Linked DNA regions of Homo sapiens: region 1 is linked to region 2. Evidence: promoter capture Hi-C in human tissues and cell types (Jung and others, 2019). All regions are on one chromosome and are shown on one strand. Each heading gives the region's core, a stretch centred on a gene start or on the middle of the fragment in contact. The rest is flanking DNA. Distances are from core to core; before and after follow the strand shown. Region 1 has its middle 40 kb from the start of TLR3. Region 2 holds the start of HELT (helt bHLH transcription factor).

Evidence for each region. The method cuts DNA at HindIII sites, captures the fragments that hold promoters and counts their contacts. A contact is called where the count stands out against the background at its distance.
Region 1: a contact is called between a fragment that was not itself captured here and the fragment with the promoter of HELT in region 2, in 1 of the 25 tissues and cell types used here (pancreas).

What each region holds. Positions count from the first base shown.
Region 1 is chr4:186,027,116-186,032,023 of GRCh38, forward strand. No RefSeq gene overlaps it. Among named protein-coding and RNA genes, the nearest start is that of TLR3, 40 kb to the right of the region's middle. RefSeq lists an enhancer at 1-1,194. The HindIII fragment of the contact is 4,021 bases long and covers 88-4,108 here.
Region 2 is chr4:185,015,076-185,019,937 of GRCh38, forward strand. It overlaps HELT (helt bHLH transcription factor), which reads left to right and starts at 3,415. Exons shown (of 4, transcript NM_001300781.2): 1 at 3,415-3,880; 2 at 4,312-4,416; 3 at 4,672-4,768. The coding sequence starts at 3,854. RefSeq lists enhancers at 2,665-3,245, 3,246-3,824, 3,825-4,404. The HindIII fragment of the contact is 22,587 bases long and covers 1-4,862 here.

The DNA of each region.
Region 1 (4,908 bases), core at 848-3,347, 1.0 Mb after region 2:
TGTCCCCTCCAAATCTCATGCTGATGTAATCCCCAATGTTGCAGGTGGGGCCTGGTGAGAGGTGTTTGGGTCATGGGATGTATCCCTCATGAATGGCTTGGTGCCATCCTCATGGTAATGAGTGAGTTCTTGCTGTATCAGTTCATGGGAGAGCTGGTTGTCTAAAATAACCCGGCACCTCTGTGATTGCCAGACAGTTTCTTCTTGCTGGCTGCACAGACAAAATCAATCCACTGAGACCACAGCATTGCAGTACAGAAAGAGTTTAACTGACACGAAGCCGGACCACATGGGAGAACTGGAGCTATCATTCAAATTGGTCTCTCTGAAGGCTCAGAGGTTAGAGTCTTTATGACAATTTGGTGGGCGGGGAGTTAGGGAATGGGCGCTGCCGATTGGTTGGGGATGAAATCACAGGGTGCAGAAACAATCCCCGTGCTCTGAGTCAGCTGCTGGGTGGAGCCACAGGATCAGGTGAGTCAGGAGTCAGGAGTCCAGGTGGGGTGTGTCTGAAACACATCTCAGAAAACCCATCTTAGGTTCTACAGTAGTGATGTCATCCATAGGAGCAATTGAGAAGGTCTCAAATCTTGTGACCCCTGGCCACGTGACCCCTGAGTAGTTAGGGATTGTAGGAACAACACCTGTCTCTTAGCAGGTTCAGGCCCCTCCCATAATCCTAACCATGAGGTCTTTCATTGGTTCTAGAAAGGTGGTTCAGTTCTGGGAAGGGCTGTTATCATCCTTGTCTTAAGGTTAAACTATAAACTAAATTTTTCCCAAGGTTAGCTTGGCTTACATCCAGGAATGACCAAGGACAGCTTGGAGGTCGGAAGCAAGATGGAGTCACCTATGTCAGATTTCTCTCACTGTCATCATCTTTCCAAAAGCAGTTTCACCTCACTGCTCTTTCTCTTGCTCCCTCTCTTGCCTTGTGATACGCTGGCTCCCCCTGAGTCTTCCACCATGATTGGAAGCTTCCTAAGGCCTCACAAGAAGCAGATGCTGGCAAGACACTTCCTATACAGCCTACAGAACTGTAAGCCAAAGTAAACTTGTCTTTATAAATTATCTGGTCTCAGGTATCCCTTTATAGCAATGCAAAACAAACTAATACACCAGAGAGGCCTGAAAAACTGAATTCCCCACCACAATGGGAAGGGATGTCAGACACACCTCGCTATGCCCCCTCCCTTTGGAGTTTAGGTACAACTGACCAGCATTAACATGAAAACAGAGATCATAACACTGACAAAACAGACTCCATGGCAATAAGATAACAAATTCCAACCTGACTCTGGTATAGCATCATATGACAGATAGCACTCTCTGAAGGAAATCAAGTGTATTTTACCTTAAAATATATTTCATTGACATATTTTGAAATGGCCCTGCAAAGCCATCTTTCATGGAGGAAGTTTGTAGAGAATCTTCATTCATGCAGCCTGGCCTTTCCCGATCTAGGAGAGATTAACTAAGAGTCTGACACCTGGCTGGGCGTGGTGGCTTACGCCTGTAATCCCAGCACTTTGGGAGGCTGAGGCAGGCGGATTACAAGGTCAGGATATCAAGACCATCCTGGCTAACACAGTGAAACCCCGTCTCTACTAAAAATACAAAAAACTAGCCGGACATGGTGGCGGTGCCTGTAGTCCCAGCTACTCAGGAGGCTGAGGCAGGAGAATGGCGTGAACCTGGGAGGTGGAGCTTGCGGTGAGCCAAGATTGCGCCACTGCGCTCCAGCCTGGGTGACAGAATGAGACTCTGTCTCAAAAAAAAAAAAAAAAAAAACAGAGTCCGACACCTGTTAAGTTCTGAAAAGAGACATTCAGTATCTATTCTCTCTGAAGGCTGCTACCTGGAGGCTTCATCTACATAACAAGGACCTTGCCTTCCACAACTCCCCTTATGTGAACCCAAGCATTTCTTTCTACCAACTTCAAGCCTTTAGACAAAGCTTAACTGTTTCAAACAATTGCCAATCAGAAAATCTTTGAATCTACTTATGACTTATAAGCCCCCCACTTCTCACCTTTGAGATATCCCACCTTTCCAGGCAGAACCAATGTACACTGTACATGTACTGATTTATGTCTTTGTCTGTAACTTCTTTCTCCCTAAAATCTATAAAACCAAGCCATAACCCGACCACCTCAGACAGCCTCTGTCAGGACCCCTTGAGACTGTTCTCTGAGTCATGGCCACTCATATTGGTGCAGAATAAACCTCTTCAGCTGTTTTACAGAGTTTGGTTTTGCCAGTAACACTCACGCTTTGCACTTTGTCCACCTCGTCCTTGGGGTATCCTCACTCTAAACCACAGTGTTTAGTATATGGTTGGCACTTGATACATATTGCTGAATAAATGATCAGGCCCTTTAAGAACTGGTTAAGAACAAAACAAAAGCAAGACTGCCCTTTCTATGGAAAAATAAATACTTAGATGTCCAGACATGTTTATACTCAACTTCCTGAATTTCCCAAAAGGAAATGCGGGGAGGGGATGAGATGAGGTCTGCTCTAGTTAACTTGCTTGGAAGCAGCAATTTTGATCATGGAACTATTAAAATGTATGTGACCTTCCAAAAAAAATAAAGAGGGGAAATAGTTTCAATGTTCCAAACTCCCTCTTTGGGTCTGAAACATGTGTCACTGGCAGGTCACCCTCCCGGGAGTGCATGTCTGAAACGTGTCACTGGCAGGTCACCCTCCTGGGAGTGCACGCCTGCACGAAGCCCATGTTTGGCTGTGCCTGGAGTGTCTCCATTAGCGCTGGCACATAATGCTGCAGCCTGCGCCAGCTGCTTTTCAAACAGATTCACTGGCAACAGAAAAGGAAGAAAAAAAAAATCCAAGGTCTTAGGGTACATTTTTTTCATTCTCTTTCTACAGCTAAAAGGAAGCTGGAAGCTTGAGAAGGATTCACAGTAGCTGAATAATAGCCAGAAAGGGAGATTAGCAAGGAGCATTGTGAGAGCTGGGAGATTTTTCTTGGGTTTAGCACGAGAAGAATGTAATGCTGTGTGTGTTTGACTTGCTCGTTCTGTTGGTGTCCCCCCTCCCTTGGCTCCAGAGCCCCTGTACGCCTTCCCTCTTCCTTTGCCAGTAAGGGATTGACATGGGGTCAGTCATGAAGACGCTGTCTCCCAGCCCCACCCCAAAGGTCACAGCAGGAGGCTGCTGCAGGCTGCCTCTCAGGCTGCCAGTGGGAACAAAGATGAGGGCTGCTCAGCTCTTTTCTGGCTACCCAGGGAGAACAGTAAATCCCCTGGTGCTGCAGAGAGACCTGGACTTGGCGTGGAGACATGCTCCTTCCAAGTGACTAATTGTCAGATTTTCATATTTCATAAGGCACGCCAGCAATGAACAAGCAAGCAAAGGGACCGCAAATTAAGAAAATTACTCTAATTTATTGGTAACAATCAACCTTCATTTTCCTCTTTTCCATGGAACTTCTTCCTAATGACCTCCCCTCCTACAGCTGTGTCATTTGGATAAACACATCTCTCAGACATTTTTTAATGAAATTTGAGGCTATTCACGAAGGAGGAAGGGGAGGAAAAAGAAAACTCCTTATGCTCATCTCCCTTCATATTGTAGATGGTTCATAATGAGCACAGTGTCTTTTGAGATGTACTTGAAGGCATATTTTTCCATTTCCCGTAAATCTTCATGCTCTGGGTGTCCCAGTCATTGAAGCTGTGGGTTGCAGTGCTCCAAGAGTAAAAGGGTTCAGGAAATGCGACCGCAAAATATACTGATTGCTTCAAATGGAGGGCACTGGAGGAGCAGCAATGCAGGGAGGGGCTTTCTCTGAACCTGCCTATCTGCCTAAAAACCCAACTCTCCAACAGGAGCTCAATTGTCATGCATCTCCTCCCTGGGAATCTCATCAACCTGGGAGGATTATCCAGGAGAGACTTGGGGTCCACAGGACATCCAGGCAGACTCAGTCACAGGCATCACCCATTCACCTTCCCCCAGGTCATTCTCTCACCCCAGGCTTCCCGCACCTCCCCTCTTTCCCTGGGAAGAGGTTTGTGGGCTTCCAGACCACACTGGGTTTGGGCACTCACTTTTCTTCCCTGGGCTGCCCCTGTGCATATAATACATGTGTTTGCCTTTTCTCCCACTCATCTGCCTACTGTCTGCGTATTTCATAGACTCAGTTATCAAACCTTCAGAGAGCAGGGGGGTTGTCTTCCCTCCCCTGCAAGGGAAAAGTGGCTTCCTGCTCTTCCAGTTTACAGGTATATGCTGGGACAGTCAAACCTGATTTTTGTTGCTGTCTGCAGCAAGACAGTAAGACCACAGGCTAGACTTTGGAGAGAGGATGAGAGCAAGGATAAGTGAAAGAATAAGAGTGAGCAAAAGTGAGGAAGAGAGAGAGAGAGAAGAGAGAATTTTATGAATCTCTTAAGCATATGCGGAACTCAGCCTGGAGGTCTGTGATCACACGATTGGTCCAGGATGGGAGGTGGGCTGTCTTTGTGCCTGGAGGGCATGGCCAGGAGACCCCCGCTGCTGTAGAGCAGGAGGAGGATGCAATGGATGGGAGGGGAGCAAACTGTTGTTCTGTTCCCTTTGTGCTGAGAAATGGTGGAAAGAGGAGAGAGAGGCAATGTGGGCAACCAAGCATTGAGGAAACGGAGCACTTACTGAAGAAGAGATTTTAAATTAATAAATTCGGTTGAACAAAATCTTGATTCGCAGTCCTGCCCCATTCCTAGCGCTGGCAGGTTCAGGCTCAGGAGTGAGATGCGATCACTTGTCGAGAAACTGAGAAGTCACGTGTGTTTCATCCATGAGACTGTGATGCGAGTGAGTTTGCTACCCAGCCACAGTGAAACTTAGCCAGCGTCTGCATGTTCTATTTTACTGATGGGATAGCACTGTAGGAGGCAAAAG
Region 2 (4,862 bases), core at 2,165-4,664:
GTCTTAGTGCAATTTGTCTAAAGTTACTGTATTCTTTTCTTTCCATCCATCCCCTGCCCCCAAGCCCACAAATCCTCAATTTCTAAAAACTGGAAGCAAACACATAATAAGCCATCCTTCTGTGTTTGCAATCTGCTTGTCAAACTTATGGAGCCAAAGAAATAGTATTAAAAATAACGATAATAAACATGGTCGGCTTGTGATTGCTGTGTTCTCCAGTAGAGGTCTTTAGCTGCCAGGAGGCTGAACGCAGAGCAATATTTAATAAGCACTGTCTAATTTCCAGGCAGTCTTGCTTCCTAGCTTTCTTTTGATTTTGATGCTAATATTTGCGTCCCTTGAGAACGGCTATGATGCTGAGGGGTCCTGTGCTTAGAGTCCCTTTCAGCCTCACACACACACTGGGACTACACAGCTGGCCAGTAGCACTATGTGATGTCACCTGGGTGCCTGAAGGCCCCCATTCATTTGCCTGATTTTGGTCAATTAAACAAACTTCAGGAGGAATTACTGTGGCTTTTTCAGGGAGGCTAGAGCTTTCTCTGGGATGAGGGCAAAAAATGAAATGAGTGGAAAAATCATCTAACAGTGCAAACTCCACACTACCCTGTAAAACACAGAAGAGCCACCGTAGGAGAGATTTGCAGGCAAAGTAAAACCACTAACTGCACGATCCAGTCTTCTTTTAGGTGCCTCGTCTGTATTTACTTATTTCACTGGAGTGACCACCCGGTAACATAGTAGAAACATTATTTCCATTTTACAGATGAGGAAACTGAGGGACAGTAGATTCAGGACGATGCCTCGAGTCTCACCCAGCTGGTGGGCGGTAGGGCTGGGATCTGAACAGGCTGGCTGGCTCCGGCGAACCTCGGCTCTTCCCTACTCTGCTCTTATGTTGCGTGGAAACTAGGCCAGGATCAGGGAACTCCTGATCTTCACCCTGAGGAGAAGCAAAGAGAAGACAGCCCTGAGGCGCCCCACTCTGGGGCAGCGTGTGTGACCCAGGCCTTCGGACCGAGAAGGGAGAAAGGAAATACGTCCTTCCCTATCCTGAAGCGGAGGGCGTTCCAGGTTTCGCAGGTAGTGCTGCAGCCGCGCAAGGACCGGGCGAGGCTGCGCCCCTGAGCCCAAGTCTCCACTCACCGGCCTTCCCTTGCCCCCTCACCTGCACGCGGGTACTTTTAGCCCTGGGCAAGCCTTGAGCCAAGCGCCGAGACCAAACCCGGGAAATTAAACAGTGTGCATGGAATGAAATGTGGTCCGTGGAAGGTGCCTGCAGCTGGCGGTTAACACCGGCAGTAAGAGGATCAACGCCCGGGCCGCTGGCTTAAAAATGGGAGTGGGAGTGCGAAGTGTGCGCGCTCCTTTTTACCCATTCACGTTAGTTAATTTGGATGATAAGGGTTCGCGTTTAATCTCTTTGTGTGCGAGTGAATATCCTGAAATCGACAACCCCTGAGAGGGCACTCGCGGCTGGCAGAGCAACCTGGGAGGGTGCGGATCGTGTCCAATCTGGCGTGAAGCAGAAAGGAAACATCGTGAGGAGACTAGAGGCAGGACCGAGAGGGACACCCTAGGGGTGCGAGGTGCAGACCGAGCCCTCACATCTCCCAGGCCGCAGCAGGTGGGCCGATGGCTTCCCCGAGGCCTGGCACCCCAGGCCTGGCTCTGCGCCCTGAGGCTCCCAGGTCCCACCAGCTAGAAGAGCGCCGCCTACCCACCCCTGCCAAGGTCTAACGACCCCAAGGGGGGCGCTGGGCCCTGCCATCTCCCTGCAGAACAGAGAGAATTTAGGCAGGGTTAGGGGCAGGCAGAAAAGAAGAAAAATCTGAGAAGCGGTCTCAGCTGTTCCCAGATGGAAAAGATTAGAGAGGTGAGAGTTCGGTGGCTCTAGAAAGGGCCATAAAACAAAAATCATTTTTATCGTTTCAATCTGCAAGAAAGCTCACCCCCCACCCACACCCCACAAGCTCAGAGCCCCCAGAGTATAGGATCCGAGGCAGCAAGTGTGAGCGAGGCCCGTCCTGGGGGAGGTGGCCTCTGGCCGCGGGGCCAGGTTGCCCTCAGAGGCGCAGGCGGCCAAGAGAGTTCCCAGCCGCCGCCGCCCCCCTCCTTCCCCTTGGGCCCGTCCAGCAAATTTCCTCCCTCGTTTCTGTTCGTGCCTTCCCTCCCTCCTCCTCCCCCCGATATTTTCGCTTTCTAAAACCATAAAAAAGAGATCAACTTCCCAAACTTCACAGGGCCCTTTTCAGTGACAAATATTGATGCCCAAAGTGTCTGCGCTCTCCCGCCCCCAAACGTTAAGAAAAGACGCCAGCGAAAGGGAGACATAAAAAGTTAACAATGCTGTGAAAATATGTTTGCAGAAAATAGACAATCGTTGGATTAAACGTATTCAAGTATGAAATAATGCCTTTTTGTGTCAAAACTTGGGCGATGGGCGGGTACAAAAGTTCCCTGTGGCAGCTACTTGCTCCCTTTGTGAGCCGTGCGCTTTGGCGTCTCCACTTGGGCGCATTACTCAGAGCCCTCTAAGCGCGATTGTTTCTCCCTTTCTAATGACATTTACCGGATCAAAACATGCTGTTAATTCGATCAGAAGGCTTCACCCTCCCTGACAAAGCCACAATAATTTCTCCTGAAGTTTGTTAAATTGACCAAAATTAGGCAAATGAATAGGGGTCTGTAGGCGCCCCCTCTCGCAGGTGACGTTGCATAATGCTTGCCTGGGCCAGCTGCATTCCCCCTTTTCTTCTCGGCCCACTCTTCTCCGTGTTGCCCCCCAATCCTCCCACCCGCCCCTTCACACACAAACACACACACACGCCCGCCAGTCTCTCCTCCCCCACCCTCTGGCATTATTAAAATTTAGCCCAATGAAACTATTCATACTTTTCAATGGACATTTTCGTATAGGATAATAGGCTACAAATTGAGCCTCTTCCCCCCGCGAAGAGGGAGCAGGAGGGGTGGGGAGAAAAGAAAGCCAGCGACGTGGTCAGGGAGTAGGGGGGAGCGTCGCGTGCCAAACAGCGGCGGGAGGGGCGAGGCGAGGCGAGGCGGGAGCCTCGTGTGCCAGCCGCAGCCCCACACCTGCCGGGATGTCCGGACAAATAAAGCGGTGTAAACAAAAAGGGGGGAGAAGGACGTGTCACCAAGTCGTGTGAGAAAAGCCTGGGAACAAACGGGGCGCCTCCGTCTCCAAGAGCTCTCCCTTGAACCCGGCGGAACAGCCTATTAAAGGCTTACTTAATTACTTTAATGACTCTGGACAGGCTTTAAAACGCACTCGGCGCTGGGACGGCGGGCTTGCTGGGATTTGTAAACAGGCGATCATGTGAGACTCAGCGGTGGGACTAAAAGAGGCGACACTGTTTTGTGAGGGTCCTCGCCCCCCGGTGCCCGCGGCCGCTGCGCCCCTGCGCTCCGCGCCCGCGACTGCTGCAGGCGCTTGCTCGCCCGCCGGCCCCAGTTTACCGCCTCCTTTTCCCGCCCGAGCTGTTGCCATGCAAATGTTATTCCTGGGCCGATCACGTGTCCTTTGAAGGGCCACGTGGATTAACAAAGCTGATCTGCCCCCAGCTCGCCCCCCTCGGCTGCTAATTTTTTTTTTTTCTTAACTTCTTTAAAACTGATCTTGAATGCATACATCCTCCAAACGCAGCTCCCCTAATCCTATGGAATAATTCAACTCGTGAATGCATCTGGAGCCCTAGATGACCGCTTTATAAGGCAGCCCTCGGAGTTGGGAGGCTGCAGTCTACCTGGGACACTCGAGGAGGCACACGAGGCGGAAAAGTGGACGGGTGCCCCGCGCCACCGCCTCTCCCGAGGGCGCGTACTGACCAGGATGTCAGACAAGCTCAAGGAACGCAAAGTGAGTCGGCTGAGCCCAAATGGCACTTGCGCCCTGGTGGTGGAGGCATCTGACTCACCGACCCGCCACTTGGGTGGACCGATGGCAGGGAAGTGCCCGCACGGGACTTTGAGTGTGGAGGAATCTCGAGTGGTTTGGGAAGGGGGTGGGGTAGAGAGAGGAGGGTGCTCAACCAGGTAGAAGTCCTGCCTGGAGGCTGGCGGCCACCTCCCCAAAGGCCTGGGTAGGGTGGCTGGAAGGGGAGCGCGCCAGCGCGGGCGTCAGAAGGCAGAGCTCACCTGGCCCGAGCGTGGCGGGCCAGGAGTCCCTTCCTAGAGCGAATCTGAGCAGTGTGCGCGGCTGGAGAGGCGGCTTGCACCCAGCTGCTAGAGCCGCGCCTTTGACGACTTCCCGGGCAAAGCCATCCTAAACATACAACCCTCTCTTCGCAGAGAACCCCCGTTTCTCATAAAGTGATAGAAAAGCGGAGGAGGGACAGGATCAACCGCTGCTTGAACGAGCTGGGCAAGACAGTGCCCATGGCCTTGGCGAAGCAGGTAACGTTGGCGACCCGGAGCCGGGTGCCAGGCGTTGGGAGGCCTCTGCGGCCACTCTGCGGAGACGCCCGAGCCCGCGGACACAGAGGACCTCACTTGCGGGCCCCTCCCAGGCGGGGGGCCTGAGCGCAGGGCGAACCTCAGGAGGCTCTGGCGCAGATCCGCAGCCGCGTCCGCTCGCTGGTCCTCTCCAGCGCCACAGTGCCCGACCAGCAGGCGCTGGGCCGCTGCGAGGGGCCCTTCCTCCTTTTGCAGAGTTCCGGGAAGCTGGAGAAGGCGGAGATCCTCGAGATGACCGTTCAGTACCTGAGAGCACTGCACTCCGCTGATTTTCCCCGGGGAAGGGAAAAAGGTGGGCACAGGTTAGGGAATGGGACGCCTGGGCCAGGCGCCTGCGCCACCCAGAGACCCTGGGGCTGGGAGGGGAGTGACTGAGTGTTCCCGAG